3 separate regions of the Homo sapiens genome follow, and regions 1 and 3 are each linked to region 2. Evidence: promoter capture Hi-C in 16 types of primary human blood cells and fetal thymus (Javierre and others, 2016). All regions are on one chromosome and are shown on one strand. The core of a region is centred on a gene start or on the middle of the fragment in contact, and the rest is flanking DNA. Distances in the headings are between cores, read along the strand shown.

Region 1 (4,127 bases), core at 495-2,994, 670 kb after region 2:
AAATCAAAAGTAAACAGAGGGCCCTGGGCTTATATGTGATGTTTAAAACAAAAGGATGTAACCAGAGGGCCTCTACTTTGAATCCCTGACATTCCATGATTCGCTGCTAATGTTCTTCTAGCAGTGGCTGGAGGAAGCCGGCAAGATCTGAATGCCGTGGGGTCCTGGGGAAAATGGTACCCAACAGTAGGACTTCAGCTCAGCAGAAAGTAGACGAGGCTCTGAATATACCCTACCCCGTGCAATAGGCAGCCCACCAAATTCAGGTAACCCTTGCATTGTGGCTTTGCCCCCCACCTCTTTTTTTTTTTTTTTTTTTTTTTTTTTTTTTGAGATCGGGTGTTGCTCTGTCACCCAGGCTGGAGTGCAGTGGCGTGATCACAGCTCAATATTGCCTGGACTGCCTGAGCTGAAGTGATTCTCCCACCTCAGCCTCCCGTGTAGCTGGGACCATAGGTGCATTGCCACACCCAGCTAATTTTCAAAAAATTATTTGTAGTGAAGTCTCATTTTGTTGCCCAAACTGGTCTCCAACTCCCGGGCTCAAGCAATCCTCCCACCCTGGCCTCTCAAAGTACTGAGATTACAAGCGTGAGCCACCACACCCGGCCAGCTTTGCCACTTTTATAGGCTCACAGGCAAGTTACTTCTCCAAGCCTGTTTCCTCCCTGGTAAAATGAAAATGTGAGCATTAGATTGTTTGGATGCAGGGCTTATTCTATTGGAAGAAGTCAGTATTAAGGCTTGAGCAGATGGGAATGACATGTAGAGCTGGTTTTGGTGAGTTCTGTGCCGCATTTGGACCATGGGCAGGTGCGGGAAGGGGATATAGGATCCAAGTAGAAAAGCTTTGCAAAGAAAGACAATGGTTCAGAGAGGACAGACCTGGGACTCCTTGTGGAGAAACTGGTTCAGATCACAACCTGAGTCTTAAGAGCAGCCTCTGGGCAGGAGTCAGAAAGCTGGAGAAACATAGGAGAAACCCAAGAGGCCAACTCTGCATGGGGAATATAGCAGAGAAGAGAATAGGACAGGACCTGCAGGGAGAAGTTTTGGCAGAGTGGAAAAGGGGAGCTGAGGGGGCCCCAAACTGGGAATCAGTCCAAAGACACCAGTCTGCCAGGCTGAGAGGGGAACTTGGAGCAACAGCTTGTTAAGCACTTGATTAATGAATAAGCTGCTGGCTGGTTCAGGTAAGGGTGCACCTGTGATTTACCTAATCCCTACAAAGCTCACACAGTGAGATCTCCACGCACTCAAGTTGTTTTGTACTCGAAGTGCTTGACTGAGCCTGGACTGTGCTGAGCAGCCTTGTGGGAGGGACTCCTAGGAGAAAGTTTCTTAAAAACAAAAATAGACTCTTGGGGTGGTGGTTCTTGCCCATTAACCAAAGTGGCAATAAAAAGTTGCTTTTAAACTTGGGAGCTCCAGAAGCTATTATGGGACAAAATATGAGCAGAAGTTAGTAGTGTAGTATATCACTCTAGAATTTAGATTCTTTCATCCTTATGACCTTTCTTGTATAGGTATTTTTTTGTTCCTATAAACTAAGACTTTTAATTAAACCACAACACTCATAGAGAAAACTGGCAAAATTCTAAATATTTGGTTGATAAAAGTTCAAAAACTCAAAAGGCTTACATAACCAGCACTCCCATTAAACTATAGAACACGACCAGCTCCCGGGTACACACCTTGACCACTTCTCCAGGACCAGCCCTCATCCTTTCCATAGCTTAGTTTGCCTGTATTTCCTCCCTTTGGTTAAAAGAAACTAATTGTGGTAAAATACAACATAAAATTTACTATCTTAACCATTTTTAAATATACAGTTCAGTGACATTTCAACATATTCATTGTTGTGCCACCATCAACACCATCTGCCTCCAGAATTCTTTATTTTGCAAAACTGAAACTCCATATACCTTAAACAACTCCCCATTTCCCCTGCTCCCAGCCTTTGGCAACCATTCTTCTACCTTCTGTCTCTATGGACAGTACTCCTCTATGTACTTCATGCAAGTGGAATCATAAAGCATTCATCCTTGTGTGTCTGGCTTGTTTCACTGAGCTTGATGTTCACAAGGTTCATCCATGCTGCAGCGTATATCAGAATCTCCTTCTTTTTTAAGGCTGAATGTATTTCATTGTGTGGATACAACACATTTTGTTTACTCATCTATCTGTTGTTGATGGACGCTTGAGTTGCCTCCATCCTTCAGCTATTGTACATAATGCCGTTTTGCACACGGATGTATAAAGATGTCTTTGAGGCCCTGCTTTAAATTCTTTTGGGAATGTACCCGGAAGTGGAATTGCTGGATTATATGACGATTCCATTTTTAATTGTTTGAAGAACTGCTATACTGGTTACTCACAGCTGGTCTTGTTGGTTTTTAACTTTATATTCATGGAATCATTGAGTGTGTACTCTTGTGTCTGGATTTTTGGTTCAACTTCGTGTCTGTGAAACTCAAACTTTGTCATTTGCAACAAGCATCCTAGTGTTCTAAGGAGTTATAATTACTTGATTTTTGTTTGTGTGTGTGCTTTATATTCCCATGTCTTATTAAGCCATGCTTTTTTTATAGGTAGATCCTTCCAGTTCTGTCATTAGCCGTGCAGCATGTGGTAAGCTTATTGAGTAGAGTAGAACATTTCTTTTTTAAAGTTCAACAGAAACCTTTGCTAAACGCATTTTCTAGACGTTACATCAGGTCCTGTGATTCTCGTCTCCTGTGGGGACATCAAGCCTCAGCTCTGTTTCTGGTGCTCTAATAAACTCCACATTCCATGTGACAATTCCTGCAGAGTCCTCCAATTGGGCCTACTAGTATGGCCAGGATGCTTTTTAATTTTAGGGCTCCTTTTATAATTTTATGATAGAGTACTTCGATCAGCCCTTTAGTTATCCTGGCTGAGAAGCACTCCATCTGTTAAGATCACCCTACATTTCACACCACCTCTAAACTGGCTTTTCCAATGAACTCCTCCATCCAAAACCATGCAGTGGAAATCAGTGCAGTTGGAATTACCTCTCTGCAGAACCTCTGAAGCTCCTGTGGGTTTCTCTGAATACTTTTTTTTTTTTTTTTTAACATTTTTGTAGATGTTGTGAAAAACATTTCTTGTAAATCAATATCTAGTTTAGTAATGTGTCAATATCACCTCTTTAACAAGGTCTTGTTGAAATGTTCCAGCAAGGTCCAGCTATGTTCCAGGGGGTCAGAGAAGTGTGCCCCTAACATGGTTGTGGGGAACAGAGCATTTCCTCTGAGGAAGGAGCTTCTAGGACTAGAAATGAAGGGCCTTGGGAATCTCCCTAAGCCATCAGCTTACAGTGGAGCGGAGCGGACAGAATTCTTTCTATGCTCTTTGGTGATTTCAGGATGGAGCATGGAATAGGAGCTGCTCATGATATGTTTAGGTGGAGTCAGGGGTCCTGGGTTTCAGTCCCTCCTCTGACTCTTAACAGAACGTAATCTTGAGCAGGTCATTTGACCTTGCAGAGCCCTGGTGTCTCCATTGGTGAAAAAAGCATCATTTACAGAGATCTTAAGTTGTCTCGTCTGTTGTGGTCTTTCATGCCTCCATTCCCAGAAAGCTGCCCAGCCTTCGAGCTCCTCATCTTGCTTAGGAGGTTTGTGATGTAGGACTTAAGCAGATTTTCCCTCATGGATTTTATTTTGAAAGCTTAAAGTCATACAGGAGATCACGCTAGCTCGTGCCTAAGGATGGGGGGGTGAGAGGACAAGGCCATTGAGGGCTGGTGCTTTTGGTTTGGTTTGGTTTGGTTTTCAAGGAGAGCTAGCTGCCCAGCAGAGACAAGACAGGTTGCTTTCCGTGGCTAGGGGAGAGTCGGGTTGGGAATTCAGGGGGGTCGCTAGGAACTCGAGTCCTGGATTGTCAGTCACAGCTCCCAGAGGTGGCCAAGCCTCGGAAAGGGGTGGTGCATCCTGTGAGCAGCACACAGATCTCTTTAAGGTACCAGGTGGGCCAAGACAATGATCTAGTAAGGATGACCAGGGAGGAAAACCAGAGAAGCCACCATGCATGTTCTCCTTTGCTCACAGTCATGGACCTTTGCCTTTGGAACAACTTTAGGAGCTGGGATGAGACAGGACAGT
Region 2 (3,893 bases), core at 1,044-3,543:
AAAAGCAGCTGATAATATGAGATACCAGCTGAAAAACAGACGAGTTTAAGTAAATTCAGATTATCAATCCCAATTTATTAATTAGCCATGGCTCTGAGGGTTCCCCGTGGACATGTGGAGGAAGAAAACAGACAATCATCAAACACTTGCTACTTACCAGGACTTCATACATATGCTCCACAGATTGATATATAATTGCCTAGAGTGGCATGTTAAAGTTGTAACTTTGCCAGATAATTCTTCGTTGTGGGGGACTGTCTTCTGCACTGTAGGATTTTTAGCAGCATATCTCTGGCCTCTACTTACCAGATGCCACTAATGTACCACCACCCCCAGCTGTGACATACAAAAACGTCTCCAGAAATTGCCAAAAGTCCCCTGGGTAGAAGTCGGGATGGCAACATCTTCCCCAATGGAAAATCACTGGTGTATCCTTACAATACCCTGGGGTGGATGGTAAATTAGTGCCCTCTCATTACCATTAACTACCCACTAGCTATGCTGGCTGTGTTTCTTCTGCTGCTTTTCTTCTCTAAAGCTTTTTGTACACTTCTCCGTAACCATAAAACTGGAATGCCCTTCCTCTTTCTCTGGCTAACCCCTACTCATCCATCAAGTATCAGCTCACTATCACTTGCTCAAGGAAGTCTTCCCTATTTTTCCCCCACTTCTCCTTTGTACTACTTACCCAATTCGAATACAAATAGTCTAATTATTTAATAATATCGGTTTCCCCTGCTAGGGTGCAAGCTCTGTGTCATTCAGGATGGTATTTACCAATGCCTCCCTACCACCTAAGACTAGATCTGACTCACAGAAAGCATTCAACATACATATATTTATTGAAAACATCCCCAATAATTAACAAAATCCGCATGTGATGAATCCTTACTGTAAACATAAAGTACAAGCTGTTTTCTTGGAATTCCAAAATAACTCCAATATGTTTCATTTTGCTTTTAGGCAGGAGTTATCCTTCATCCCTCTTTCCCCAGACTCCACGTCCAGTCTACCACCAAACGCTGCCACTTCTACCTCCAAGACATATCTTTAGGATCTGGGCTCTAGTCCCCACCATCTTTGAATCTGATTACCTTATTATTTTTGAACTGGTCTCTCTGTTCCACTCCCACCCTCCATGAACATCATCTACCTAGAAAGAATGATTCCTTTAAATCACCAAGCAAATAATGTCATTCTTCTGCTAAAATCCCTCCTATGGCTTTCCATAAGACCCACATTAATATCTGAACTTTTCACCATCACTTGTAAAGGTCTCCATGATCTGGCCCCCCTTCTTACTTCTCTATCACCCTACCAATCTTCTCAACTACCTCCACTGTGCTCTAGGCACTCTGGCCTCGGGGCCTTTGCTCTTGCTGTCCCTTCTGTGTGAAATGCTGTTCCCTCTGCTCTTGCCAGGATTAGCTCCTTGTCATTCAAATCTGGACTTAACCTTTCCCTACCCATTCAGTCACCACTTGGTATATCAAACGATTTGCATAGTCTACATCATTATTTGGTTTTTAAATGGTGTGCCCTCTCTTTCACGTAGAAGGTAAAGTTCCATGACAGCAGGAAGTTGGTTCTTCTTGTTACCTCCGGCGCCCAGGACAGAACGTGGTACATATTAAGTGCTTAGTAAGTATTTGTTGAACGCTAAATGTGGTTAAAACGCAAAAACCCATGTTTCCTAATCGCTATCCCCAACTCTGCCTCCCAGTGACGCTAACCGACCTGAGAACCGCAGACTCCCTTGACAAGTAGCTTTCACTTAACTCTGCCGCGTGAACTGGGAGAAAAACCCAGCTGGGATGCAGAAACAGGCAAAGGGTTGTCAAGAGAGACGCTGAGTGATGAACCACTAGTCTCCCTCTAAACCGCAAACAAGAGTCCACACCCCAAGGGGGCGGTCAAGGAGAGAGCCGTACCCAGAGCCAGGGCACTGTACGGCCGCCTACCTGTCAGAGGAGTCCGCGTCGTCGAATTGCCCGGGGACCACCCGGCTCATGAGAAGCCGCCGGTAGTCCATGACTGGAGAGCGCCGCCGGAGGCCGCCGCTCTGCGATGGAAAGGAACGGCTCAGACGGATGTACCCACGGCCGATCCAAAGGCCTTGGCGTGGATATCCGCCTTGCAAACCATTCAGAAGCCAACAGTGGCCACCACGTGCGACGGGAAAACGGGACCGACAGATCCACCACCCTGCCACCCCAACCGGAAGCCCCTCACCGCCTCGCCCGGAAGTCTGACTTGAGCGGAAGTCCCGCCCCTGCGCCGAGCTGGGAGTCCGGAGCTCTCTGGATGGCGCGCTGTATAGGGCTGTGGATGTTCTGTGCTCTCAGGAAGGCGTGTTGAGTAGCCGGCACGGCGAGGCCCGTGCTGGCCGTTTCTTCCCGGAGTTTTCGTTTCTGTACCCCACTTTGTGTTTACTGCGGCAGGAGGCGCCAGCTAGCCCACAGGCTGTTCGGCCTAGGGGGTCGTACCTTCCTAACTTCACCACTCTCTGGGAAGACACCGCACCCACAGTAGGGTCGCTCGGGCCTCGCGGGCTGCACCTGTCTCTGCGGAGTTCCCCCGGCGCGGGCGGACGTCACACAGGGGCGTTCCAGCACTCCGGGAGCCCGATTGCGAGTTTGTGAGAGTCCTTGGTGGAGGAGGTTGGAAAGCGTTCTCCCTCCCACAAAACCCGGTGCAGAGGGAGGGAGAGCCAGGTCCGTAGCGTGGGTCCAAGAAACTATGGATCCTGGAAGTGAGCACACTTTTGTGTCTTAAAAAGTTTGGTGTCTCGTTTTGAGGTGAAAAATGAATGAGATAAGTGCTTTTTAAAAAGGTAAAGTTTGTCTTACAACTGAAAAAGCTTTTAAACAAAACTATAGTTTTTGCGAGTAACTCCCGTGACACCTCTTTTAACTCCTATCTTAAAACAGCTTTAGAATGTCTCTGGAACATCTATTCAAACATTTGATAAATATGTTAAAAATCCAACATAAACCTGTAAGGACAAATGAAAGATGGAAAAAATAGTCTAACTTTAAATTAAAAAGGTAAACTGGCAGATTGTGCAGTGCCACATGAGGGATGAACAAAGTTGTAGAAATGTAATTGGAAGTGCTGGGTTCACAAACAAGAAAACTAAGAAACAAGGCCTTTGCGCTTTTTTGCATTGGGAAAACAAAGCAAGAATTTTTCAGATCTCACCACAATCCAGGCAGCATTATTTGAAAGACAAGGGAGAAGTGAGCATAAAGTTGGGCCTTTCACTGATCCTGACTGGTCTGCTTGGCTTACTTTTTTATATTTTACCAAGTGATGACATAGGTTTGAAAACAACTAATTTTCAATAAACTATTCATTCAGAAATTCAATAAAAGAATCCAGGCAGATGAGTAATGACTATAAATTGAAAGAGCTTGATAGAAATAAGTCATTGGAATGCAGGTTTTATTCAATCAATATTTGCTGTGTAGACAGCACTGGTCCATTTGCAGTAGGGGATATTGGAAAGCCCTAAGTATGCTCCTCTCAAGACATTTATGATCTGTAAACACAAACACTAACACCCTTGAAACAGTGGTGAAGCTCTAAAACAGTAAACGAAATCACCAAGTGCTGAATTGTAAGATAGAGATTTAGAGACTGAAGACATTGTAGGAATTTTGAAAATAGATGAATGGGTAGATGGGAAGGTTTTAGGAGAGAAGCACGTGCCAGGGCAGATGACTGAAGCTTAATTCGTAAGGAACATTATCTGTCTGCAGGGAAATGAGCCTGATCTGAGTAGAGCAGGGGAGTACCGGGTAGGGGATGTCACTCCAGGCTATGGATGGCCTGGAAGGACAAAAATTTATAGAATCAATGTGAGTGGCCATCCTTTCCACTCTCAGCTCTGG
Region 3 (4,093 bases), core at 1,542-4,041, 680 kb before region 2:
ATGTATTTCACAATTCATTGCCCTCAGGAGTATTTTTAGTTTTGTGACATGGTCTTTAAATTAAAAACTGTAAATTTGTATTTGTATGTTCGGAGACTACAGGGTTCAAATTAATTATGGGAGTTGTTATGTGTCTTACAGGGGTAGGTCAAGTCTGTGTACCTTTCATGCTAACCACTCGGTCTGCTATAAGCATGCCACATCATGATTCACTGCTGCAAATTACACCTAGCCCCAACACTTCTGTCTTCTCCCCCCATTCAGCAGGAGGATTGAAGCAGGACAGATAGAGGCAACAGGAAATAGGCCACCAAGCATTCTCATCCCAACTATTTCACTCTTTTCCTTCATTTTAGGTCAGCAGTGAGGAAAGAGCGGGAGGCCAGAGAGGGAAACCACCTCTTTGTCAAGCGACCCCTCTTCCCGCTTCTTCCTGTGTCTTACTCCTCTGAATCCCTCAGTCAGCTAGGCAATTCTTTATTGTGCACAACATTGATGGAACAGGTATTACTTGGTACCACCAAGTACCAGGACTTCTCGCAACTAACTTAGATCTTGGAGGATGAAGGGATGGTCGAAAGATGAAGACCTGGCTTCTGCAGCCAAGTGTTAGATCATATTCTCAGCATCCAGATCAAAACAATTCATTTCCTTGTAGAATTTCTACTGTGCTTCTTGGGTCATTTCTGTCAGGCACTTGCCTGAAATGCCCTTTCCTTCTCACTTGGTAACCTCTTCAGTATTCTGCTTTGTCAATGTCCTCATGGAAGTCAAGTCTGTCCCACCCCTGGCCCCTGATTCTGGCACTGGCATCATTGTACTGTTTTTGATTATCTGTTTCTTCCGCCGGGCTTAGTAATTTCTTGAGAGCAGAGACTATATTTTCCCTTGCTTATCCAGCCCTCAGAACAATCATTGGCACACCACAGTCGGTGCTCAATCTGGTAAAAGAATGTACTGAGCTGACTGAGCTCAGTACATTCCTTTTGAGCTGACTGAGAAAAGTATAAGTGTAAATTACACGTATATGTTATCAGTACAGCTGTATATTGCAGAAAGGCCCAGTAACATCAGGGTGGGTTGTTTTTTTCTCATGTAAAAGAAGTTAGGAAATTAGCCCACCTTTGGTGTGAAGCATCCAGCTCCTGTTTTTGCTACTCCATGCTGAACGAGTGGTTTCCATTCTTAAGTTCAACGTATGGTCCAGTATTAACGTCAGAACTCCAGACATCAAGTCTGATTAAGACCCAAAGAAACAGCAAGAGGGGGACAGCAAAAGGCTTCTCTCCCAACCTTATCAATTCCCCTGAAGGGCCTTTCCTGGAAGCCCTGTTTGGCTGTATTGATTTACAATTTTGGCCACTCCAGCTGGGAGGAGGCCAGATGTGTAGTCGGAGGGCACCCAGAATAAAGCTCTGCTCTGTCAATGAGAAAAGAAGGAAAAGGGATACTGCATAGGCAACCAGCTATCTCTGTCACAGTGAGTAATGCTTAAATGGGAAAATGCCTTCTGAGTGCCAAATGATCAATTGTATAAGATATTTTGTTAATACATTGCTGACATCACATGGATCATCAATTTGCAAAGAATTGGGATATAATACAATTTCCACTGACCACATTTCACTGACAATTTAATTTTCATGATTCAGAGCTAATTTTACGATTCTGTAGTATTCAGTTATGAAGATCTGTTAATACTTTTTAAAATATCTGTTAAAACTTTTAATAACAACAATAATAGATAACATTTATTGAGCATTTAGTGTGTATCAGGCACTATTCTAAGTGCTTTAAGTGAATTAACTCCTTTTTTATCCCCTTTTGCAGATAAGGAAGCTGAGGCACACAGAGGTAGGGAACTAACCCAACATCATACAAGGAACTGAGATCAAGGAACTGAGATTCAAACACAAATGTCTGGCTCAAACTTACCTGTAAACTACTCTACATGGAGTGCCATAAAATTCTGCTTAATTAACTTGTGGAATCAGTTTTTACCAACCTAGAAAAAACCTGCCCTAGGTATTAGATAAAATAAATGGGTACATAATTTTAAGAATAAATGAGATGGTTGCACCACTCTGGGAATATACGGAAAACTTCTAACTTGTACACTTCAAATGGTGAATGTTGTAATATGTGAATTACAGCATTAAATCATTTGGGGGTGGGGAAGCAGTGGAGTCGAGCACACCAGCCTCATCATGTATTAATTATGAGACCTTGCTCAAGTCACTGCACATGGAATTCCTCATATGAAATAGGGGTAAAGACAACTGATCTCATTTAATTTGCAGTGGGAATATATAAAAATTACTCAGCACTGTGCCTAATATGTAGAAAGTTATGAGTAAAGGTCAAACTGCTATGGAAGATTGTAAAATCATAAAGCCAAATTATTAAGACTTTTCCTACCTGCCAATCATCCCTGAGGTACCAACTTGCTCAACATGTGAGCCTGAGATAAAAATGGTGGCAGAGCATCCTGGGATTTTGATAAAACATGAATTTACATTACTTACCAGTTTAAAAGTCTCTCATGCCTGTAATCCCAGCACTTTGGGAGGATGAGGCAGATGAATCACAAGGTCAGGTGTTCAAGACCAGCCTGGCCAACATGGTGAAACCCCATCTCTACTAAAAATACAAAAAATTAGCTGGGCATAGTGGCAGGCACCTGTAATTGCAGCTACTTGGGAGGCTGAGGCAGGAGAATTACTTGAACCCAGGAGGCGGAGGTTGCACTGAGCTGAGGTCGCGCCACTGTACTCCAACCCTGGTGAAAGTGCAAGACTCCATCTCAAAAAAAAAAAAAAAAAAAAGTCTCTGGTTCTCACACTTTTCAAGCTGTTGGAAAAAAGGACCATGCTGTCTTTCTTATTTTGTTTCTAATAGATCAATGAGCCAGGTGTGGTGGCTCACACCTGTAATCCCAGTGCTTTGGGAGGCTGAAGCAAGAGGATCACTTGAGCCCAGGATTTGAGATTACAGTGAGCTATGATTGTGTCACTGGATCCCAGCCTGGGCAACAGAGTGAGACCCTGTCTCTTAAAAACAAAGATTGATTAGCTGGGCACGGTGGCTCACGCCTGTAATCCCAGCACTTTGGGAGGCCGAGGCGGGCAGATCACGAGGTCAGGAGATTGAGACCATCCTGGCTTACACGGTGAAACCCCGTCTCTACTAAAAATACAAAAATATTAGCCGGGTGTGGTGGCAGGTGCCTGTAGTCCCAGCTACTCAGGAGGCTGAGGCAGGAGAATGGTGTGAACCCGGGAGGCGGAGCTTGCAGTCAGCTGAGATCCCCCCACTGCACTCCAGCCTGGGCGACAGAGCGAGACTCCGTCTCAAAAAAAAAAAAAAAAAAAAAAACAAAGATTGATGCGACCTGTCTAGAAGAGAGTGCAGCTATCTTTGTGAATGCTCTTCCTTCTGAAAAGTGAAAGCCCCTTTCCAAGGATTTTCTTTCTGTAATTCCGAGAAGCCTACAGCACTGACCAGTCAATGATAATCTAAATATTATTTAGGTCATACTGTGTAACAGAACTCTGCTAGGCCCTGCAGATAACGCAGTCACGTCCCTGCCCTCATAAAGTTTACAATCCAATGGTCTGTGAACACATTCCTGAAACGGTATATAGAGCACTCTTTGGGAGGCTGCCAGCCACTCAGCATTGTTTGAAAGTAAATAATTAGATATCATTTACTGAGTATTTAATATGTTCTGAGCTCTGTATGGGAATTTTACAACATTAATATGATCTCATGTTAATTTAGGAGCTAGAGAGGAGGCAGAGACTAACCCACATGCTAACCACCACCTTGGTTAGACCATGACTGAAGTGGGAACTGTATGATTTCAGGGTTAGAAGACCATCTGTTGCCATGTTCACTGGATTTGATTCAACTCCCCTGATTAGACACATGTCCCTATTCCATGTGAAACTTTTAGGAACAGACCAAAAATTCCAAGTAGGGAAGAATCACTCTTCAGTCAAACGTCTGTGAGCTTTTTCATTAATTAGAATAAAAACGAGTTTTAAAACAAATAGAAATTATAGAATGGGAACAATGTCAAACAACCACAGCC

What was found. Contacts are between HindIII fragments. The CHiCAGO score rates a contact against its expected background, and 5 or more counts as called.
Region 1: a fragment that was not itself captured here is called in contact with the fragment with the promoter of CAGE1 in region 2 in 4 of 17 cell types (fetal thymus, naive CD4 T cells, non-activated CD4 T cells and 1 more); the score reaches 8.0 in fetal thymus.
Region 3: a contact is called between a fragment that was not itself captured here and the fragment with the promoter of CAGE1 in region 2, in 4 of 17 cell types (activated CD4 T cells, naive CD8 T cells, non-activated CD4 T cells and 1 more). The highest score is 7.0, in activated CD4 T cells.

The regions. Positions count from the first base shown.
Region 1 is chr6:6,718,865-6,722,991 of GRCh38, reverse strand. All of the region lies in intron 2 of LOC101928004 (a long non-coding RNA gene), which reads left to right. The region is part of intron 4 of LOC101928047 (a long non-coding RNA gene); the gene reads right to left. Among named protein-coding and RNA genes, the nearest start is that of LY86-AS1, 98 kb to the right of the region's middle. The HindIII fragment of the contact is 1,788 bases long and covers 851-2,638 here.
Region 2 is chr6:7,388,142-7,392,034 of GRCh38, reverse strand. CAGE1 (cancer antigen 1) reads left to right here and starts at 2,293. Exons shown (of 14, transcript NM_001170692.2): 1 at 2,293-2,833. RIOK1 (RIO kinase 1) reads right to left here and starts at 2,227. Exons shown (of 17, transcript NM_031480.3): 1 at 1,962-2,227. The coding sequence starts at 2,032. RefSeq lists enhancers at 1,555-2,341, 1,945-2,364, 2,495-2,544, 2,555-2,614. The HindIII fragment of the contact is 2,322 bases long and covers 541-2,862 here.
Region 3 is chr6:8,071,248-8,075,340 of GRCh38, reverse strand. All of the region lies in intron 3 of EEF1E1-BLOC1S5 (EEF1E1-BLOC1S5 readthrough (NMD candidate)), which reads left to right. It also overlaps a transcript of EEF1E1 not described here. Among named protein-coding and RNA genes, the nearest start is that of BLOC1S5-TXNDC5, 8.9 kb to the right of the region's middle. The HindIII fragment of the contact is 6,631 bases long and covers 1-4,093 here.